Linked DNA regions of Homo sapiens: all the other regions are linked to region 1. Evidence: promoter capture Hi-C in 16 types of primary human blood cells and fetal thymus (Javierre and others, 2016). All regions are on one chromosome and are shown on one strand. The core of a region is centred on a gene start or on the middle of the fragment in contact, and the rest is flanking DNA. Distances in the headings are between cores, read along the strand shown. Region 1 holds the start of LINC02902 (long intergenic non-protein coding RNA 2902). Region 2 holds the start of LOC124901629 (a long non-coding RNA gene). Region 3 overlaps TNS3 (tensin 3). Region 4 overlaps TNS3 (tensin 3). Region 5 has its middle 6.5 kb from the start of PKD1L1. Region 6 holds the start of LOC124901628 (a long non-coding RNA gene). Region 7 overlaps PKD1L1 (polycystin 1 like 1, transient receptor potential channel interacting).

What was found. The method cuts DNA at HindIII sites, captures the fragments that hold promoters and counts their contacts. A CHiCAGO score of 5 or more calls a contact.
Region 2: a fragment that was not itself captured here is called in contact with the fragment with the promoter of LINC02902 in region 1 in 4 of 17 cell types (total B cells, naive B cells, M0 macrophages and 1 more); the score reaches 10.7 in total B cells.
Region 3: a contact is called between a fragment that was not itself captured here and the fragment with the promoter of LINC02902 in region 1, in 3 of 17 cell types (total B cells, naive B cells and fetal thymus). The highest score is 12.9, in total B cells.
Region 4: a contact is called between a fragment that was not itself captured here and the fragment with the promoter of LINC02902 in region 1, in 2 of 17 cell types (total B cells and naive B cells). The highest score is 10.4, in total B cells.
Region 5: a contact is called between a fragment that was not itself captured here and the fragment with the promoter of LINC02902 in region 1, in 1 of 17 cell types (total B cells). The highest score is 6.2, in total B cells.
Region 6: a fragment that was not itself captured here is called in contact with the fragment with the promoter of LINC02902 in region 1 in 3 of 17 cell types (total B cells, naive B cells and erythroblasts); the score reaches 17.4 in total B cells.
Region 7: a fragment that was not itself captured here is called in contact with the fragment with the promoter of LINC02902 in region 1 in 3 of 17 cell types (total B cells, naive B cells and M1 macrophages); the score reaches 8.9 in total B cells.

What each region holds. Positions count from the first base shown.
Region 1 is chr7:47,653,178-47,656,538 of GRCh38, reverse strand. It overlaps LINC02902 (long intergenic non-protein coding RNA 2902), which reads right to left and starts at 1,295. Exons shown (of 3, transcript NR_171030.1): 1 at 1,191-1,295. The HindIII fragment of the contact is 4,908 bases long and covers 1-3,361 here.
Region 2 is chr7:47,359,410-47,362,502 of GRCh38, reverse strand. All of the region lies in intron 17 of TNS3 (tensin 3), which reads left to right. LOC124901629 (a long non-coding RNA gene) reads left to right here and starts at 1,298. Exons shown (of 2, transcript XR_007060319.1): 1 at 1,298-3,093. The HindIII fragment of the contact is 1,625 bases long and covers 823-2,447 here.
Region 3 is chr7:47,317,134-47,320,080 of GRCh38, reverse strand. The region is part of intron 20 of TNS3 (tensin 3); the gene reads left to right. Among named protein-coding and RNA genes, the nearest start is that of SNORD151, 150 kb to the left of the region's middle. The HindIII fragment of the contact is 192 bases long and covers 1,292-1,483 here.
Region 4 is chr7:47,281,095-47,284,464 of GRCh38, reverse strand. It overlaps TNS3 (tensin 3), which reads left to right. Exons shown (of 31, transcript NM_022748.12): 28 at 600-768. Among named protein-coding and RNA genes, the nearest start is that of SNORD151, 180 kb to the left of the region's middle. The HindIII fragment of the contact is 9,538 bases long and covers 1-3,370 here.
Region 5 is chr7:47,953,374-47,956,622 of GRCh38, reverse strand. It overlaps a transcript of PKD1L1 not described here. Among named protein-coding and RNA genes, the nearest start is that of PKD1L1, 6.5 kb to the right of the region's middle. The HindIII fragment of the contact is 1,607 bases long and covers 675-2,281 here.
Region 6 is chr7:47,253,266-47,256,157 of GRCh38, reverse strand. LOC124901628 (a long non-coding RNA gene) reads left to right here and starts at 1,544. Exons shown (of 2, transcript XR_007060318.1): 1 at 1,544-1,767; 2 at 2,379-2,892. RefSeq lists a silencer at 1,483-1,662. The HindIII fragment of the contact is 6,901 bases long and covers 1-2,892 here.
Region 7 is chr7:47,910,984-47,914,020 of GRCh38, reverse strand. All of the region lies in intron 8 of PKD1L1 (polycystin 1 like 1, transient receptor potential channel interacting), which reads left to right. Among named protein-coding and RNA genes, the nearest start is that of PKD1L1, 36 kb to the left of the region's middle. The HindIII fragment of the contact is 1,845 bases long and covers 798-2,642 here.

The DNA.
Region 1 (3,361 bases), core at 46-2,545:
ATCACGCAAGTCGAGCACTGAGAAGCTATGCAGTCCCTGAAGGCCCACTCCTGGACAGAAATCTCCGTGTTTCTCTTTGTTCTGGTCTTGACTGAATCTAAACAAGTGAAAGGCAGTTCTTGAGCCTGTGTAACCCCCTAACCTGGCCCAAGTTCCAAACACACCTGGATCTTCGCCTTTTTCATCTGTTAATTGTGGCCAATAAAAATACCTTCCTTGGCCGGACGCGGTGGCTCACGCCTGTAATCCCGGCACTTTGGGAGGCCGAGGCGGGCGGATCATGAGGTCAGGAGATCGAGACCATCCTGGCTAACACGATGAAACCCCATCTCTACTAAAAATACAAAAAATTAGCCGGGCGTGGTGGTGGGCACCTGTAGTCCCAGCTACTCGGGAGGCTGAGGCAGGAGAATGGTGTGAACCCGGGAGGCGGAGGTTGCAGTGAGCCGAGATCGCGCCGCTGCACTCCAGCCTGGGCTACAGAGCGAGACTCCGTCTCAAAAGAAAAAAAAAAACTTCCTCCCAGGTTTTAGTCGTTTTTTCCCCGGCACCCCTGCTTGCCACGTGGTAAATGTTCAATACAACTAATATCAATAATGACTCAAGTTTATTGATTACCACCTCTCTCTTTCCTCCATGGAGTGCTTACTGGGAGGATGGAGTCTCTTGGGGTGCGTGGCTTTCCCATACATCAGCATCAGCCATCGCGAGACCCCACGGGCCAGCAGTGTGGACGGGGAGACAAGTGAGGCCTCCCAGCCAGAACAGCTCAGCCTGCCAGGAGAAGCAGAAACCCCCCAAAGTAATCACTTCTCGAGTGCCTTCGAGACCCCAGATGTTGGGAAAACAACTATTTTCCCTTGTGTAAGACATGGCCAGTTTCTTTCCATCTCCTAAACAAATCAAATACAACCCTGAGCCCTCCTCCTTCCAGCCTGGCAGAAAATCCAGCCTTGACATTCTGTGGACTCTCTCTGCCCCACAGGGAGTTACCAAAGCCCTGGGAGCTTTTTCAAATTTTGATGGATAGCAAACATTTTAAAAAAAGACAAAAAATCAAATTATCATGAAGTGGACACGCCCATGTAACCACTTCCCAGGTCCAGAAAGAACAACAGTCATCCAGGACCACCCCCACATCCCTCCCAGCATCCACACCTCCCAGGCCCCACAAAGACCACTGTCCTGACCGCTGCCTCCCTCCCTGGGGCCCGGCCAGAGCCGTCTTCCTTCTGTTGACTCTGTTGGTGCCATCCTCATCCCACTGCCCGGGTGACTCGTCTGCCAAATGCAAGAATCGAATGGGGAGAGGAGTCTAGCGTACCCCCTGAACCCTGAGCCCCAAAGCAGGAGTTTTAGCCACATAGCTTTGGGTTTTCCCAGGATCCCTCGGGTGCCTGGGGCGCAGGATGCCAGGGTATAGGAGCTCTGCTCTCATGACGGGTGAATCCCCTGGTTCTCCTGTAAGTGCAGAGATGCTAGGGTAGTTCCCACACTCAAATATTCCCCGAGCCAGGGCTGGGCGCCTGTGGGAATCCCAGCAATCCTACAGTTTCACTGAAGTCCTATAATTTCCCGTACCCTGCCTCTATTTCAGGGACCTGCTGCTCAGAATGTGGAAATGCAGATGTGGTTTGCTTGTGTTGCCATTGTTCTCGTGAGCTGTAAGGCAGTGATTACAGGCTCCGTGGGCGGCAGGGAGCAGCCAACTGGATTGACGGCACATTCTTAGCTTATTTTAAAATCAGTAACAGCATTAATAAAAATCCTGTGCCTTCCCATTTACTTTTTCTTCCAAAAGAAAAAATACTGTACTTCCTAGCAGTCTGTGGCTGGAGTGGGAAGAAAGGAGAAATCATTTGAAAGTGTGAGGAATATCAGAGGAAATTTTAGAAAGGACCCTAGGCCATCTCTAGCTTTCTCATAGCAGTGACCCTGTTCCTCCCCCCAGATTGGGACACTTTAATTTTTTTTTTTTTTTTCAAGACAAAGGAGTCTCGCTCTGTTGCCCAGGCTGGAGTACAGTGGTGTGATCTCGGCTCATTGCAACCTCCACCTCCCAGGTTCAAGCAATTCTTGTGTCTCAGCCTCCTGAGTAGCTGGGATTACAGGTGTGTGCCAGGACACCCAGCTAAGTTTTTGGTATTTTTAGTAGAGAAAGGGTTTCACTGTGTTGGCCAGCCTGGTCTCGAACCTGTAACTTCAAGTGGTCAGCCCACCTCGGCCTACCAAAGTGCTGGGATTACATGCGTGAGCCACCGGCCCGGATGATTCACTTCTTAATAAATCATCCAACCCAATGATTTGGTTCCAAAAGAAACAGATAACATTCAAACACTGTTTCCTCTAGTTCATACTGTAAGACAATGTATTTTAGATACATTTTGCTTGAAATCCACAAACTTGTCAAATACCCACCTGGGTAGAGGAGGACAGCAGAACTGAAGGGCAAGAGGGCTCAGCCAGACTTCCCTCCCCGAGCTCCCGGGAGAAGGTTAATCACTTCGATCTAAACCAGGCAGGGCAGAGACCTAGGAGGCAGGAAGTCAGTTTAAAGGATGTGACATTGGCATTTGCCCAGCGGGTGATGGGAGAGGGAGGTTGAGGTCGTAACACTTCATTTTCATTCTGCATCTTACAAAGACTCCGACCTCTGAGCTAAACTGACTTGGGCCAGCTCCCACCTAGTGAACCTCAGCTCCTCCTCCTCAAGTGAGGCTGTCACCTTGCAGGTAAGCAGAGAGTTTGTGAGTCTAAAAGGAGAGAAACTCTAGGAGAGGAAAGGCTCTGTAGCCATGGGCCTGGAGGAGCCTGAGGCTCTATTTGTGGAATGAGTGTGTTAGAGGAACTGGGGGTCTGGACCAGATAAGAAAGTCCCCAGCTTTAGGCAGTACATGTGTCCAGTAGAGGCAGCAGACAGACTTGCTGGCCAGAGGGGCTGAAGCCATCATTCGGGCCCCAAGGCCAGAGGGTCCAAGGCACATGATAGAGATGGCCGGCGTGACTGAGAGGCATGAAGTTGGAAATAAAAAATAAATTATGGAATCAGAGAGAAGTATGGGTTGTTTTCCATGGACTATGCCTGATATTCTTGTTCAATTTAACCTGATTTAGAACTGGTTCAGTTTTATCATTTTATTTGTACAAACTTATGGAGTACAAGTGTAACTTTGTTACATAGATATATTGTTGTATTAGTCTGTTTTCACACTGCTATAAAGATACCACACAAGATTGGGTAATTAAAAAAAAGAAAGAGGCTTAATTGACTCACAGTTCTGCATTGTTGGGGAGATCTCATGAACCTTACAATCATGGCAGAAGGGGAAGCAGTCACCTTCTTCAGAAGGCAGCAGGGGAG
Region 2 (3,093 bases), core at 386-2,885, 290 kb after region 1:
GCAGGAAGAGTTCGACATATGTTTGCAAATACAGGGGTCTGGGACAGGCGGAACTGCAAATGATCCTTTTGAGACCTGAACTACTCTGCTGAATGGGCACTGAGGGGAGATTTATCGCTGGACAGTGTAGAGTAGCCCTGCCCACCTACAAGATCAGAGAGAGGCCCTCCAGAGGTGGGGTATCACAAAGCTCTGGTGGCTGAGACCTGGGTGCTCTGTGTGCCAGTGAGCACAGTTTTGTATCCTTCTTGTAGAATGGGTGAGATTCAGGGAGTTGGTTTGGGGACATTTTACTCCCCACAAGTGCCTGCCAGCCATGAGGCCCTGCTCCCTCACTCTGGTCTGACTTCTGCTGCCACTGGTGTTTTGTGGAAGAGCCCCTGGGTGCTGCTGCCAGGCTCATTGTCCCCGCCCCACTCTGGGTCTCAGCCTGGTTTCAGCCTGCACGTGGTGGGTTTTTTGTATCATACCCTTTTAAGTGGGAGAATATTTCAACTGATGATATCCCAGTAACAAAAGAAATGACTCAACCTGTGAAATTCATGATTCCGTGGGTGGCAAAAAGCCAGTTCTGTGGTTTTTTTTCATACCTTGAGGGCTCTTTGCTTCATGTTGTCAAAATATTTTATTCATGTTACATCAACCTCCACCCTGTGATGACAGCAACCTGGCAGGCCCTGTTCTGCTTGCAGATAGTGCTGTGGCATTCCCACCAGGCATTTAATGTCCCTCCCAGACTCGGCATCTGCTCTGTTAGTGCTAACCCATGGCTGATAACCTGTGCATCCTAAAGAAAGTTCAGAGCAATGGAAACTGTAAGCTTTTAATAATTGACCATGGAGAGCCCGTTGATTTAAATTGTGTGCTAAACCCCAACCAAAGGAACCAAATGTGAAAGCTGGAAGAGCGCTTTAGGATTCAGAAAGCAGCTTATCTGCAAGCTCTGATTCCGTGGCAGAAGGCTCACAGCCTCACAAAGTGGAGACAGGCAGACAGTCCCACCTCATTTCAACTCCAGAGTTGGGGAACGTGCTGGGGGTGCTCAGCCAGAGCCTCTCAGCCAGGCCTTGTGAGGCAGAGGGATCCTTACCAGGCAGATGGTCTGGAGGAGAGGCAGACCGGGAGAAAGCATAGTGTGCCAGGGAAGTTCAGTGCTGGGGAGTGAGGCTGGAGATGCAGATAGGCCCCACCATGGAGGGCCAGGATGGGGGCCAAGGAGTGTGGCTCTTCCCTGAGGGCAGAGGCGAGCCTTGGGGTCTTGGGCTGGGCCCTTGCTTGTTTTTTTTTTTTTTTTTTGGCATGGTTACTGTCTTACCAGAAGAGAAGGCACTGAGAAGGTGCACTGAGCCTGGGAGCTCTATTAGGGTCCCAGAGACAATGGAGGATAGCATTTAGGCAGGATGGGGGTTCCATGGGGTGGCATTGGCCTCCAACTCTGCAGAGGAAGAATCTCAGGAGGGAGGGAGGGAAGTAAGCAAGTGGGCCCCAGCGCCTGCGCCCGTAGCAGCTGGACATTGGAAGAATGAAGGGGCCTTGAATTTGGCTATTAGTGATCTGGGTATGGGGGTTTCAGATCCGTGCTAGGGACACAGGGGATCCATGGTACTTTCTAAAAGTCCAGGTGTCGTTATTTCCGTACTGTGTGTTATAACTGAGCAGTGCCCAGTTATGGGCATCATCCTGCCAGTGCCGGGCCCTCAGAGCATGGGGGAAGACAGCAGCGTGCGCATCTGAGGTGGAGGATGGAGGAGTGACCGCAGCACCAGGCATAGACACTCCTGGAGCCCTCCAAGGACTCAGGCGTCAGCAAGAGACCAGGGCTGATGGCAGCACCTCTGCCTTTTGGGGGCTGTCTCTGGATGGTCTCAGTCAGCCCAGGGTCACCTTTATTCTGAGATGCTTCCCTTGGCCACCACCCCCTCCAGGGAGCTGAGTGAGGTCCTAGGACCCAGGTCTTATAAAGGGACTTCCTGGTACTCACATCAGAGAACCAGGATAGAGGAGGTCTGGGAGCCAAGGAGCCAGGGCCCCGGGCGCTGGACATGCGTCCGTGAGGGACTCTTGCTCTTTGTTTGCTACCACTGGCAAAACAAGGCTTTTTCTCCATCTGTGAGCTTCAGTCTCTGGAGGTTTCTGAGAGAGATGGGATATTTATGTGCCTTGAGAACTCTGAAAAGAGACTCCTGCCCAGGGGTCAGGACTAGACACAGCTCCTCTCCACCTTCAGACCCCGATGCTTTAGGGCCGTGGGTATGAACAGGTCATGTGTATGTGAGTGCACATTTAATAACCGAGTCAGCCCACTGCACTGCAGGGAGCTCTGTGGGTGTCCAATTCGGAAAACGTTTTAGAATGAGAAACTCCAGTCTGCTTGGGGAAACTGCCATTGCAATTACTTTCTTTTTATTGCATAAAACCAACTTTGAAATTTTAGAGTTGATGAAGCTTTCCATTTGCCCCAGATACTCTCACTCTGCAAAGCAGGGGGCCTTGGTTTCCCACCCTACCACCTTGGTGGGCGCTCTGAAGACACTGCTGAGAGGCTAGGGCCACAGAGGAGAAGGTGCTATCTGGGCCTTCTGGGACTTTGAGGTGTGGATTCCAGCCCACCTTCTGCTCAGTCCACACTGCCCGTGATAGCTACATCAAGGGACCTTCACTGGTTCAGGCCCAAAATGAAGTATCGTTTCTATAACAGATACCTTCTAGCGCCATCTTTACTCTTCTGAGATGAAAGTCATAGCGAATATAACCTCCTTAAGCACATACTGAAAACTAAATTTAACACCCTAACACTCATGTCAAAGGAAAAATAAAAAGAAAGTAATTCACAATAAAGTCATATGAATTTTGAGATGAAAATCTTTGGTCCGGCCCACAGTAGAAAACAGAAATCATCCCTCAGGTTTAAAAAATACTCATTAATTTTTTATTGTGGTGAAATACATGTAACATAAAATTTAGCATTTTAATCATTTTTAAGTGTACTGTTCAGTGGTAGTAAGGACATTTGCATTGCTGTGCAACCATCATGACTATCTAGTTTCAGAAATTTGTCGTCATCCCAAAGGGAAACCTTATACCCCCTGAAGT
Region 3 (2,947 bases), core at 138-2,637, 340 kb after region 1:
AAAATGCATTCTGAGTCTCTGTTTATATTTACTGCAATGAGAGTACATCTTTTTGTTAACTGAGTGAAGGGTTTAAGTGAAGCTGAGGTTTCGAATTCTTACCTAACACAGGATTCCCAGTGTTGCATTCCTCATTGCTCACAGGACGCTTTAGAAATACTGGGTGAAGATGGCAACGCCTGGTTAGGGACCTGGTTAGAGTCTGACCAGTGATATTCTCTCAAAAGCAGCAGTCTTCCAGTTTCTGAAACTACATGAGAAACCCCCATTAGCTGCCTGTGGTCCCTGGCACATGGGCTGGTGGGCATAAGGGATGCAGATGCCCCGAGTGCCACAGGGGTTCTTAGACAGGCAGGTCCTTTAAGGGTGTCTTTGATTCTATTCAGGTCCATTGAAATCTGCCACATAGAATAAGGTTTTCAAGTCATGGTAAGAGACTTCTGAGATTACAGGGGAGGTTTCTCCCCCTGGGCCTTATGTGATTTAGACTTCCATGGTGCAGTCATTGATACAGTTTGGATATTTGTCCCCTCCATGGGGGCAGATACTTCATGAAGGGCTTGGTGCTGTCCTCATGGTAACGAGTGAGTTCTCACTGTTAGTTCACACGAGAACTGATTGTCAAAAAGAGCCTGGCACCTCCCCTCCTCTCTCTCTCTCTCTCTGTCTCTCTCTCTATCACTCTCTCACTCTCTCTCTCTCGCCTTCCTCTCACCATGTGATGCCAGCTTCCTTTCACAAGTCCAGTGGGAGTGGAGGTAGACAGGAATGCACTGGCATGGGGTGGTTAGGCCAGGGTGAGGGTGTGCAGAGTGCACATCAATGGAAGCTTCCTGAGGCCCTCACCAGGTGCAGATGCTTTTTCTACAGCCTTCAGAACCGTGAGCCAAATAAACCTCTTTTTAAAATAAATTGCCCAGCCTCGGTTGTTCCTATATAGCGGTGCACATGGACTCAGACAGTGGTTGTAGGACAAAATGATGATCCTGGACCAGGACTCCTCGGGACTTCAGCTGTTGAGCCACCAGGCTAAAGTGACCTTTCCTTAGAAGGGCTGTGGCAAAGTTCAGCACATGTCATCTGTGTCCCATGTGCCGTTTCTAAAGGAAAGCCAGATTCTCTGGGAATTCTGCCTGAAAACAGAAAACATCAAGACTTCCTGTCCTGTGGACAAGTCCAGTTATGAGACTGGAATTATTCTGCGGACTAAAGACTTGGAACCAAGCATCTTAGGTACAGCCTCTTCATTGGCATAGACCCTCGCCGGTATCATCTTGAGCTGCCTGAAGCTTTCTCTGACCGCTGTCCACTCCTGTGTGGACGTGGTGTATACATTATGGTAACCTCCATTCTCCATCATGATAATCAGCCCAGGGCTCTCAAAGCCTCTTATGCAGGTTCTCTCTCTGCTTGTGAAGGGCAATACTTCCTCTGTTTGTGGGTTTTTGTTTTTGTTTTGTTTTGGCTCAGCATAAGGAAAGCTTCCCTGAGGAGGGTCAGATGGCTCTTTTCTTTTCTGGTGCTGCTTTGCATACCCTCACCCTGGCCTGACTGCCCTGTGCTGGTGCATTCCTGTCTGTTTGCACTCCCACTGGACTGGAAGCAGCTTTGAGGCAAGGACATTGTGTCACTGAGTCTGTTTCCTGTTGCAAGTAACCAGTCCCAACTCAAACTGGCTAAAGGAACAAGAGAGGAGAAAATGTAACTGTTCGCAAAGTCAAAGGGTGAAAGCTATCGAGTGTCCAGGGACAGCTGAATGGATAAACAAAATGTGATCTATGCATGCAGTGGAATATTACTCAGCCTTAAAAAGGAAGGACGTTCTGACACGCACTACAACATGGAAGAACTTCAGGGACATTGTGTTCAGTGAAGTAAGTCAGTCACAAGAAGACAAATTCTGTATGATTCCACTTACATGAGGTCCCTAGAGTCATTGAATTCATACATACAGAAAGTGGGATGGTGGGGACTTGGGTGGAGGATAGGAAATTATTTCAATGGGGAAAGAGTTATAGTTTTGTAAGATTATAAAGTTCTGGAGATAGTTGGTGTACGAAAAAGTGAATGTACTTGATGCTACAGCACTGTACACTTAAAAATGGCTAAGATGGTAAATTTTGTTATGTATGTCTTATCACAATTTGAGAAAAATAACGAAACTCACTGAGCAGCTGTGGGTGGCTGTGGCCTCAGATTTGGCTTCATGAGGACTCCTTGGCCACTCAGCGGGTGGGTCTCTCTCTCTGTCTCTCTCACACATTTATTTCCAGTGACTCCCTAGACCCTGATCTTCTCAGCTGTGTGTTGGCTCTGTCTGCAGGCTTGATGTGGTCTCTAGGCAGCCTCAGTAGCTCCACTTCAGTGTCATCTTTCTTTAAAGTCTAGAAGGAAGGAAGTCATTTGTTTTCTTGAGAACTCAAACCAAAGCACATTTTTTTACAACTCTCATCCCTTGTAGGTTGCTAAGGGACTATGTGAGTCCCTGGAGGAACTGGCCTCACTTAGTGCATCCCAAGTGTAAAAACTGCTTGGGAAACACTCACTATGAAGAAAAACGCTGTTTTCACTGTTTCAACATTAGAATTCTCTACACAACACCAACTAAACTGGTAAATGTGTTTTCTTTCCAGTCTGATCAAAACCTTGAATATAAATGGGACATCTTCAAAGAATAAGAGAAAATAGGGCTCCAACTGTAATGAACTATTGCATCTACATTTTCTACTTCCTTTTGTGTTATTGCTTAAAAGGAAGACTGTGGCATGGTCTCTTTTGAAGGGGATAATTCCAATTGTGATGAGAATGTCATAAAAGGGTCACCCGGCTTTTGGTGGACAGGATTCCCATTTCAGCCCTGGCTGGAGCAATTCTGGCTTCACTGGGGGAATAAGAACCTTGCTTCCTTTAAAAAGACAGAAACAATTTATCCTTTTGAGAGCATTTC
Region 4 (3,370 bases), core at 177-2,676, 370 kb after region 1:
GGGACAAGACCCACAGCTCTCCCTTGGCAGCATGGGGAGCCAGGACACAGGTGAGGCCGGGCCACTTTTGGCTTTTTCCAGCCTGTTCTCTGAGCTCACTGCAAGCCATTCCTTCTCTTGGCAACCAGGATTTGAGGACACATGCTTCCCTCATGGTTGTTTCTCAAGGGCCTCTGGGCTCCTTACCTATAACAGTAGTTGGGTTTCATATTAATGTGACTGTTGTCCATACCCACCCTGAGACCAGAGAAGGTGCCTTGGGCTCCACCTGGGACACGAGGGTTTAATACTGCTGCAGGGCGAATAGAAAGCTCCCTCTGGCTGGTGGGAAGGCAAAGCCACACCAGGCGGGTCTGCTTTGCTCTAGTAACTCGCTTATTCTCTGCCTTGACATGGGAGTAAGTGCATCCTTGGAGCACTCACTGTTCATGTTTTCAGAATTAGGGGCAAAGGCCATCTGCCTTACATGCACCCAGCATAGGCCACATGCGCAAGTTGTTCATAAACCCAGTCTGCACATCAGCAACTGCCTGTGTGTTAACAGGACACACCTGTCCCAATAGTTGCAACTAACATGTGTCTCCCTTGGTGTCTTCCAGCCTGCAATGTGTGGTACTTGAACTCTGTGGAGATGGAGTCCCTCACCGGCCACCAGGCGATCCAGAAGGCCCTGAGCATCACCCTGGTCCAGGAGCCTCCACCTGTGTCCACAGTTGTGCACTTCAAGGTGTCAGCCCAGGGCATCACCCTGACAGACAATCAGAGGAAGTGAGTGCCTAGAGGGAGGCAGGAGCCGTCCAGCAGGGGCGGGGCTGTCACGTTCCTCTTGTTCTTCCCTAGTGTGAGTAGTCATCCAGGTAAATCATTAGCCGTCTTTGAGGTCATGAGTCACCCAGGGTCTGTCTAGGTATTTTTCTGTCATTAAATACGTCCTGGGAACCACATAGGAACTCTTAGCATTTGTTTGCAAGGCTATTTTTCTTAGAAATCAGTAAAATAAAATAAAAAAAGACGTTTGGCGTTTTAAAATTACACACATACACACATAATTGCAAATGCAAAAAATCTTTTAACTCAGTTCCTTAAAAACACTCTGATACTATGATCAGAGTCCAATGATCTTGGAACCTATTGTTTTAACAGAGGGTCATTTCCTTTCAGGTGAGCGTATGACCTTGATATGTACTATTTCCGTTGGCCAATTTCAAATGACTTACGCCTGAGCTGTTACTGAGCCAGTTATGCTGGAGCAGATGTTCTCCATGTGGATCTTTACTGAATGCCCAGCATAAGCATGGAACAGAGCAGCCACAGGGCTGTTCCTGTCTCCCTCCCTCCAGAATGCCATCCCTGAGTGCAGCCTGTGGCCTAGGAACAGAGCATTTCAGATGCAATTATTTTGTATTGTGTGGTTGAGGAGGCACGTTGGCATCAACCGTGGCAGCAGCATGATGGCAGCAGCCATCACAGCAGACAGGCCGGCAGGGGACACTCAGACCAGCCTGGCTGCTTTCCCAGGATGCTCCCCGAGCAGGGCCCCCATGCCTCTCTGTGGTGCCCATGTCCCTAGAAGCAAGACATTTTCTTCATCTGCCCAAACCACCTGGGAGGTTGAAGGCAGGATCTTCCCCTCTGTAGCTTCAGGAATAAGTGAGTTTAGGCAGGTTTAGCTCATCACCCTTCATCTGCTGAAAAAAATGAGCACAAAGCAGAACGTGGGTTTTGCTGGTCAGACCCGTTCAGTGCCCCTGACACTGACCAGTAGATGACCCTGGGCAGGGTCCCAATGCTTGATGCTCTCGTATTTCAATCCTGCACCAAAATACCTATTTCAAGGTTTAGTGTCTCAAATGAAAAGGGCACTCAGCAAGTGCCCTGTGTGGCACACGCAGGGACAGGGTCAGGGTTGTGGCTCAACCCCACCATGTTCTCAGGGTCAGGGGCATGGCTCAGCCCCACTGTGTTCTCAGGGTCAGGGTCACAGGCAAGGCTCAGTTTCACGGTGGACTCAGGGTCAGGGACATAGCTCAGCTGTATGGTGGACTCATGGTCAGGTTCAGGGGGCATAGCTTTGCTGTTTGGTGGACTCAGGGTCAGAGTCAGGGTTGTGCCTTGGCTTTATGGTAGACTCAGGGTCGGGGCATGGCTCATCTGCATGGTAGACTCAGGGTCAGGGGCATGGCTCAGCTGCATGGCTCACCCAGGGTCCCAGTTGGGTATGGCTCAGCTGCATGGTGGACTCAGGGTCAGTGTCAGGCATAGCTCAGTTACATGGTGGACACAGGGTCAGGGGCATGGCTCGGCTACATGGCTCACTCAGGGTTCCCGTTGGGTGTGGCTCAGCTGCACGGTGGACTCAGAGTCAGTGTCAGGGGCATAGCGGAGCTACATGGTGGACTTAGGGTTTGGGATATGGATCATCTACCTGGTGGGCTCAGGGTCAGGCTCAGGGCATGGCCAGGCTGCTTGGTGGACTCAGGCTTACAGTCAGGAGTATGGCTAGACTGCCTAGTGGACTCAGGGTCAGGGTCAGGGTCAGGGGCATGGCTAGGCTGCATGGTGGACTCAGGGTCTGGAGGCATAGCTTGGCGACATGGTAGACTCAGGGTCAGGGTTGGGCTCCTTAAGGACCCTCACAATGTTGACTGTTCCCTCCTCCCTGCTGCCCTTGGAAGATATGTTATTTCTTCACAGGATCTGTTCTATGTGCCCTTGTCAGAGTTGTCTTTTTTCTGTGTCTCTTTAGTTTCCCTGTATTCTTTATATTCCCTGGAGATGGGTCATGTCCACATCAGTTCAGATCTTTCATACTGTAAGAGATAGCGTTTGAGTTCAGACTGGCTAATTCTAGACAAAAGGGGGATCTTCTCACCAACAATCAGCCTTAAAAGGCACCTGTTTGAGAGGGGCTGCAGGTGGCTGCAGGGTCACCTTGAATTGAAGCACACCCAGGCTCTGCCTCTGCCCTAGCCTATCTCCTGGCCTCTCTCTTCATCTCCAGATGAGCTTTACTCTGTGCCGGTGCAGAGTCATTCCCAGAAGGAGAGGGGTGACCCCAAAGCCAGCTAGACTGGCCCAGCCTGGACACAGCAGAGTGTTGAGTTGGGCATCCTCTGGGGACCATGTGGACTGGGTGGATAGCACTCTTGGAAGGAAGGGCTGGGCAGGTGAGCCGGAGGAGAATGCCCCAGGTGGTCATGTCAGTGACTAAGGGCTGTCAGGTGAGCCTGGAAGGAGGTCTCTATGGGGGTCGTATCAGTGACCATGTGGAGTCCTTCCTTAAGGAATATTCCTTGCACAGCACTTTATTGTTCACTCAGTGCTCTCAGACCTGTGACTGCATCTGACTTGGGCATCTGTCCTGTGGAAG
Region 5 (3,249 bases), core at 229-2,728, 300 kb before region 1:
ATGTAGGTATTTATAAACAGTCTTTGCAATCTGGCTTTGTCTGTGATTGTCCTTGTATAGTAGGTCTGTCCAGAAATTGTAAGCATACTGTCTTTTTTGGTCTTTAAGCCCGTGAACGCTACAGCCCGTGTAGTGCCAAATGGTGCCCTAAGCCCAGGTTCCCTGCAGTCCACTCTGTGATTTGTTTGTTGACTGCTGTGAGCCCCACCCCCATTCTTTGTTTCTAATTTACACCTAGCAGGCTAACCCTGCTGGCACCTGCAGTGCTTCCAGGGGGAAAGGACCATAGTGTGCCCCTGTGAAGAGTCTCAGAATGGTGCGGAAGGTGAATGCCCACCTCCCGCTCTCTTTTCCCACTGTAGAAACTGATTCCAGAGAAATTCTCCAAGTGCGGTGCTATGTGGGCTTGCGGGAGAGGTGTTATGATCAAACAGAACCATTCTCTTTACCCTCTGTTCATGGTTTTTCTTGGCTCTGTGGTCCAGTGAGTTGTCACAGCTTCACTCCCAATTTCTGGGATATTCAGGGCAATAATCTTGCCACTGGGTATTTGCTAGTTGAAATTATGTGGTAGGGAGAGAAGCCAGTAAGCTTCACTTCTCCGTTTGGCTGATGTCACTCTCGAATTCTGTACTTTCATACGGATTGTAATAGGGAGGGTCTAAAAGGAAGCTTCAGTTTTGGATTTTTAGAGCTTCTTCTAAGTACAATTGTTGAATCAAGAGGTAAAAATGGTATGTTATAACTGGAAATACGCTGAGATTAAAAAGGAGATAAATTAGCCCCATTGGGACAGTGCTATTGGGAATGTGAATTGATACCACTTTCCTGGAGTCTAGTTTAGTATTTATTTTATATGTAATGCCTGAAAAGATGTGTGTCTCCTTTGACTCAATACTTATAGGAATTTACACAAAGGTTATAATCAAAGATTATAGAACTGTTATACTGGAAAAACACGAAATATTCTAATTATGAATTAATTGGGGATTGGTTAAATAAACTATGGTTTGATATGCTCTAAAAATAATGTTACAGAAAAAAGTGTACTGATATGGCAAAATGTATGACTTATAGTTAAAAAAGCAGGTTAGATGTTGATAGATACAGTATGATAGAAAAAGATCAGGAAGGTATATGCTGACATTTAAATCTGGATATTTATGAGTGTTTTTTTTATTTCAATCTTTGTACATGCATGTATTTTCTAGAAATTGTATTACTATCTTTGTAATAAAGTAAATTATTTTTAAGGGACTAAATAATAAATATTTGTTACTTGAGTGCCTTACACATTCACTCGGCAATTACAGTTTCCCGAACATTGGACTTCAGACTCTTTTCACAGCACATCCTTATTTTCATAAATAGAAAATTAAACTTTTTATTTGTCATTTTGATGTTATGCCAGGTTTAGAATACTGGAGTCTCGATCAATAAGGTGGCACCACATTGCAGAATCATCTCTTTTTACCATGGGCCCAACATGGATGAGGATCAATCAGTGTCTGTAACAGTCTTTGCAGTGAGGGCAGAGTGACCAGTTATTAAGTTGTAGGCTAAAAGATCCTGGGAGAGACCAGCCACGCACAGGACTTCACAAATCACTGGACAGTAAGGAAGATGACCCTGTGGGTAGCACGAGAAAATGTAGCCGCCTTCCTGGAATCTAGTTCCTATTCGCCTGTAGCACCAAATGAACCAATCTTACAACCATAACCAGCATATGTAGCTTGGAAAGATGCTGAATTCCACACCCTAAGATCTGGGAATGGATTTTGGCTCTTTCCAGCGTCCTAGTCTGGGGCAAGTCATTCAGCCTCTTGAGACAGTTTCTCTAACAGTGACTAAACATGCTGACCACCTGTGGTGGTTGGAATAAGAGAAAATAGCATTACTCATTGGCAGGTTTCTAAATTGGGAAGCGTAAAATGTGAGCATTTATAAGCGGTCTTAGTCTGTGTTGTGTGGCTATAGCTGATTCCCACAGACTGAGTCATTTATAAAGAAAAGAGTAATTACAGTTTTAGGGGCTGGGGTGTCCAAAGTAAGGTAAGGGGATGCATCTGGTGAAGGCCTCCTTGCTGTATTGTCCCCTGGCAGAAGGGCACAAGGCAGAAGTGGGTGCAGGAGACAGAAAGGAGGCAAGAGGGGCAGACCATCTTTGATAACAACTCATTCTCCTGGTAACAGCATTAAGCCATCATGAGAGCAGAGTCCTTGTGACTTCATCACTTCTCATCAGGCTCTGCCTCCCAACACCACTGCAGAGGACCAAGCTTCTAACTTATGAATTTAGGGGACACACTTAAACCATAACATAAGCCTTACCAAACAAAACAAGCAAAAATTGGCTTTTTTCTCAGTGAAAATACGCTGCTAACCAGAGGCTGCCAGTTCACGGCAGCACACAGTGCAGACTGGGTGACTTCCATGGCTCTTCCGAGGCTCATAGAGGTTTGGTTGGCGTGTCTTAGCGCACCATGACATCATCCAGTGACCTTAGGGCTCAAACCTTGTGACCAGACAGCCCTGTGTTTCTAACCTCAAGCTATTTAAAAATTTAAAGGAGGCTACATATATACACTAACCACTTTTTACCATACTAGTTTCAATTTAAAATTATCTTTTTGGTTATCTTCCTTGCTGAGAGAAAATTCTAGTGAAGCCTTCTGGGGGAGGATCCTCCCCTTACAGGGGAAGAAAAACATGACCAGACAGAAGTGAGAACCAGAACAGAGTGGAGGGCATCTACCTTGTGTTTTTGTCTTTTCTCTGTTCACTTCTTTCACTGTTTGCAAATAAACCCTGCCAAGGAGGCAGAGCACATAAGGGGCCCTCGTGAGGGAAGTGCTTGATGGGATGCTGGACTTCCTCATTAACACTTCACCTAGTTCAAATTTGGCCTTCCCACAGCAGCTCCTACCTGGGGCTTTACCAGTTTTTGGAGCATGCAGTCTTAAATCTAGAAAGAAATGCCCAGTGTGATTCTTAGATGTTTGGTGGCTTAACCTGTCCCAAATGACAGGTGGGCCTCCCTTCACACTGGACAGGTCTGAAATAACCAAGAGAAACAGTGGTGCTCCAACTCAGCTCCATGGGGAAGCTGAGAGGGACCATGGGACTTGTCCTGGGTCTGCCTTGGCATGTACCATCATACGATCTGGGCTCACATAAGTAGCAGTCCTTTCCTAAGAGGATTCTATTCATACTTCATGAAATACCAGTTGTCTATATCAAATAATCAGT
Region 6 (2,892 bases), core at 175-2,674, 400 kb after region 1:
TCATACTGGCAGACTCCTTGTGGCTCCCATCTGACCTGTTTCCAGCTATTCCCAATAAGATAGCCACTCTTTAGGCCAGCCCTGACTAGGAGAGGAGCTAGGTTCTGGTGCATCTGTCCGGGGAGACAGAGGAGGCAACTGGACAAAGCACATAGAGTCACAGAAGCAGCATATTCCTCACAGATCCCAGAGAGAAGAAGGCAGAATACCTCACATGGCTAGCGGAATGGAGGGAGCTGCCTGGGGCACACACACACACAACCACTGGGTGGGGATCGAGAGAGAGGAGGACCTGTAAGCTGAGGCCTTAAGTGGGGTCCAGGGGTCTACCCCAGGCAGGTTTCCCATAGGGAGTTCTAATTGATGGGTTTAGAGCAAGCAGGCACCGGTTCCATGTAATCACGCCATGACTGAGAGGTGGTCATTGCAGCATATCTGTGAGGTCCATGTGGGGTCAGTGGGGTGAGTCAAGTAGGTTGTATCCAGCTGTCTCGTAGGGCAGTGGTCACCAGGAGGTGTTTGTATAAGGCAGATGTCTGGATTGATCACATTGAGGAACTGGAAGGAGGTGGAGAGCTGGAAACTGTGTTAAGGGTGAGTAAGCCCTGCCTCTGGTAGGAAAAAGTTAAACCTCTGTTGGGAATGGTAACATGGAATTATAAGAGTTCACTACAAGCTGCATCCTAGGCCTTTCTCCTACTCTCACTGCCACAGAAACCCAGTGGTTCCGGGTTAGTGGGTCCGCATGTTGGTGCATGTTCGTGTGTGTGCGTGCATGCGTGTGTTTGTGCATGCATGTGCACATATGTGTGTCTGAGGTCTTTCTTTTCACCCTTAAACCCCAACAGGCTAGTGACAGGTTGTGGGCCCAGGGCAGCAGGGGCCACTGATCTTCAGGGGCCTCATGGCTCAAATGACATAGCAGGGCCCAGGCAGGGTTATGGTTGGAGAGACACCTGGGGACCCAGGGACGGCCCTGTGGCCCAGGCAGGGATGTGGCAGGAACCTCTAACAGAGCCTGCACCTGACAAGGACCAGAGAGTGGTAGCCTTGAAGTCACACCTGCCTCGATTTAATGAACAAGTGGGCAGTTTGCACAACTGGCCTGGCTGTTTCCAGTTAGCGTCGGCTCCCAGGGACTGGCACAGGCTCAGTCGGCTCAGCATATTGTCTATGGGCGATTTTCCATCTTGCTCACAAAACCAGGAACATTTACTATCTGGCCTTTTCCAGAAAAAAGTTTGCGGGTTCCCGGGCCATGCTCTCATTATTGTTGGCGTTATGAGGAAATGCAGATACAGCAGCAGAAGGAAGATCTGAGAGAAGAAGACAACAGGGTCACTGAAGTTGTGTTAAAGTGGTGCAGCACATTTGCCCTCTTTTTTTTTTGTACTTTCAAGACTGGCCACAATGCTGAATTTCAACGAAAGCACCCATAAGGAAGCCTGCCTTTTGATGTGCTCAGCCTGCGAGGGTCGGGAGGAAGAGAGGGGCCTGCCGCCTCGCGCCCTGCCCGCGCGCCCTCTGTGGGTGCCGCTGGTCCCGGTGTGGCCGGCAGGGGGCGCGCGCGCCATTCCCGGGCTCGCCGGGCGGGGCGGGGGCGCTTCCGAAGCTGAGCCGAGGACGCCGTGTTCCGCCGGTCCGGAGCGCCGCTACTCCGCGACCTGAGCCTGGCTCAGCAGCTCTGCCAGGCGTGCTTCCGCGCAGGGTGGCCGGACGTTCTGGGGAAGTTGCCCCGGGCCCAGCACAACGCCTGCGGGGGAGGGGGTGAGCGGCTCCAGCAAGGGACCCAGGGGCGGGGCTCAGGGAGACGGGGAGGGAGAATGGAATAGATAGGAACCGTCGAGATCTCGCAGGGGGGCCCACAGGCCACCCCCAGGGTCGCCTCCGCCCCCGCTGCCCTGCGGGCTACCGGCTCCAGTGGCGGGCCAGGACAGGGCAGCGCGAAGAGGAAACGCGCCCCGGCGCTAGGCCCCCCTCCCAAGGAAGGGGTCAAGCGGGCTCTGCCCTGCCCTACTAGTGTGACTGCTGGCTTCTGGGGGCTCAGCTCCCCGACTGTAGAGGAAGAGCTAGAAAAGCGATTCCCGAGAAGGGGAATCATTGTAAGCAGTTACTGCACTGTAAAGTGGCAGAGGGCTTGCTTGGTAGCGGAGAATCAATCGGGTTACTCTTCCTTCCTCACGGGAAGGGCATTTGTAAATTCCGCGTTGCAGAGACAGCCGGTGCTGGCCAGTTGCCTGGCAAGCGTGTGCTCACGCACACATCAGCTGCATCCATGAGGGAGATGATCCTATCTTAGCGTGGCAGGGCCAGAAAGGGGCTGAGAGTCTGGGCCCAGTACTGCTGGACTGTGCAGCCTTCGCTCTGTTCTCCTTCAGTGATGACTCACTCTCTCCTGAAAGAAGACCACACTGCCCCGGAGACACAGGAGGCCTTCTGACCTGGCCCGGTTGCCCTTCCTGGAGATGCCCCTCCTTCCCCAGAAGGCAGGCTCAGCTCATGGATGGTGCAGTCAGTAAGGGGAACTCAGTGCTGCCCAGGTCCCAGTCCACTGTGGACACCTGCATGATCTGACACTTCCCCATGAGGACTTTTGAGAAGCCAGATGACTTGTTTGAATTATCCAGTTCAGCTCCTGAGCCTCCTCTGCAAGATCCTACCAAGCAAACTTGGGGTGTTTCCCCTGCTCCCCTATTTCTGGTATTAACACCTTCCCCAGAACACCAGACTATTCCTGTTATGACGAGTAAAGACCTCTTAGTATTGTAACTTAAGGGGGTCACACCATGGCAACATTCTATTTTTTTCCTTTTTGTGTACTAGCTAGAATTACTCTATTTATTTACTTCAGGCATTTACTTGTTGTAATTATCTGATTTTGTGTCCCTGAAA
Region 7 (3,037 bases), core at 471-2,970, 260 kb before region 1:
CATTTTTTTCTCATATATGCTTTCACCTTTCTTAATTGCTTTGTTAAATCTTCATGTCTTTTGATTTCCAGCAATTACTAATGAGGCAATCTGCATTATTCCACAGCTCCTACCTCTTCTCTTCCCCAGCCCAAATTTCGTTTACTGTATGATTTCTACATTGTCAGAACATGAAATGTTTACCTTTTTTTCTGCTACTTATGTATTAGTTTGTTCTTGCATTGCTATAAAGAAATACCTGACACTGGATAATTTATAAAGAAAAGAGATTTAATTGGCTCACAGTTCTGCAGACTGTATAGGAAACATTGATGTGGGCATCTGCTCAGCTTCCGGGGAAGCCTCAGGAAACTTACAATCATGGCAGAAAGCGAACAGGGAACACACACGTTACATAGCCGGAGTAGGAGCAAGAGGGGGGGAGGTGCCACACACTTTTAAAAGACCAGATCTCATGAGAACTCACTATCATGAGGACAGTACCAAGTGGCAGGGATTGGGGGTGACACTAAACCATTCATGAGAAATCTGCCACCATCATCCAATCACCACCCACCTCCTCACCGCCAGTGCTGAAGGCCCAACCTTCAATACTGGGGAATGCAATTCGACATGAGATTTGGTGGGGGCACAGATCCAAATCATATCAACCTGCTTTCCCACATTAGTCTTAGTTCCGGTTCTAGAGCTAATATATTCGGTCCTCACTCAGCTTTTTTTTGGCATGGTGTTCCTGTTTGGTTGTCTGAAGTTTGTCCTCTAGTAGATTTTTTTTAGGAAAATTCATGCAATAAGCTTCCTCTAAGTTCCCATATTCAAAACTGTTGCTGCCATTATGTTGGAACGACAGTGTGCTGGCTCTGGACTCCTTGGACACATGTTCTTTTCCTGGGGAATCTGGTTGTCTTTCCATTCTGTTCTCTCCTGTAACCATGGTTCTCCAAGTTTGGCCCAGCAGCATCATGACCACCTGAGACTGGCTTAGAATACAGACTCTCAGGCCCACTGCAGACCTACTGAATCAGAAATTCAGCTGGTGGCCCTGACACTCTGTCTGAAGAAGCCTCCCTGAAATTCTCCATTCTGTCTTTCTTACCTTGTGGTGATTCCAAAGTCAGCCTTCTTTTTTCCCCGTCATTGATTAATGTTTTTCTGTGATTGTCATGAGAATTATTTCTTTTCTTTTTTTTTTTTTTTTTTTTTTTGAGACACAGTCTCACTCTGTTGCCCAGGCTGGAGTACAGTGGCATGATCTCGGCTCACTGCAACCTCCATCTCCTGGGTTCAAGTGATTCTCATGCCTCAGCCTCCCAGGTAGCTAGGATTACAGGCATACACCACCACGCCTGGCTGATTTTTGTATTTTTAGTAGAGATGGCATTTCACCATGAAGGCCAGGCCAGGCTCAAACTCCTGACCTCAAGCGATCCACCCGCCTCAGCCTCCCAAAGTGCTAGGATCACAGGTCTGAGCCACCGTGCCCAGCCGGTAGTTATTTCTTTATTTGCAACTCCAGCAGCTTTGCCAGCACGTGTCTAAGTGCTGGCCACTCTGGGTCACCTTTCTCCAGCACATGGTGTACCTTTTCAATGTGTCCTTTGTTTCAGGAAAGATTTCTTGAATTAGATCTTTACATTGTTTCTATTCCAATATGTCAGCTTTCTTTTTGGGAGACTGGCATACATCTATTAGTTCTCTTTTGTCTTTTCAAATCTTTTTTGTTTTTCCTTTTTCATCTGATCCGCTTTCCTCATATTTTCCTCTGCATCCCTTCTTTTGTGTTCTACACTTTCCATTCTCCATTATACTCTAAAATGTTGACTTTGTTTCCTTCCAAGACCAGATGCTCTCTGGTCTTCCATCTCAGAAGATAACGATTCCTCAAGTTGTTCAGTCCTGTTCTTGTGGACAGTGTTTTTCTGATAAATTATCTTAATCTATTATGAGTATTTCCTGAATTTTCCCTCTTGACTCTTATAGTATCTTGTACATGCTGAATGGTCTTTTCTCCCTCCTTTTCTCCCTTTATCCTTCCCTCCCTTCTTCTTTCCTGCCTTCCTTCCTTTCTTCCTTCCTTTCTTTTTTTTTTTTTCTTCACAGCATTACTCATAATTTAAAGAGTTGCATTTTTTTCTGAACTAACTGCTGGTGGAGTGTGTGTGTGTGTGTTGCGTACACACATGTATGCGTGTTGATGATATTCACAGCCACTGAGCCCTTTGGCAACTGAGTTCTCACTTTAGGACGTTTTCTGTTTTCTTCCTTCAATACGGTTCCTGCTCATGCATGCTTGATATTTGCCGCTTTTAGCAGTTTTTGCGTCTATTTTGTATTCTGAACATGCTAGCTACCTCCTAGTTTCACTAAACAAAGAGAGAAAAAGTTTTTATTTTTATTCACTGTTTTCCTTTTTGTTTTTGGATTAACTCCTAGAAGATTAAGTAGAAGGCTAAGTATATCTCTATTTCACATCAGGACTTGCTCTATTATAATAATTTTAAGCATCTGCAACTTTGATACATATTCATTGGTTTCTTTTGTTGTTTTATGAATAAAGTAAGGAATTGGTATTTGTATTAGGCCATTCTCCAATTGCTATAAAGAAATACTTCAAACTAGGTAACTTATAAAGAAAAGAAGCTTAATTGGCTCACGGTTCTGCAGGTTTTACAGTAAGCACGGGTGCCGACATTTGCTTAGCTTCTGGGGAGGCTTCAGGAAGTTTACAATCATGGTAGAAGGCTACAGGGCAGCAGGCACAGCACACAGTAAAAGCAGAAATGAGAGAGAGTGAGATGCCACACACTTTTAAATAGCCAGATTTCAAGAGAAGTCACTCACTATCGCAAGGACACCACCAAAGGATGGTACTAAACCATTCATGAGGAATCCACTCCCATCATCCAGTCACCTCCCGCCAAGCTCTACCTCCAACTTTGGGTATTACAATTCGACACATTAGATTAGGGAGAGGTAAACATCCGAACTATATCAGTATTACATCTTTTATCAGGGGTTAAGTCTAAAGTCAACTTGA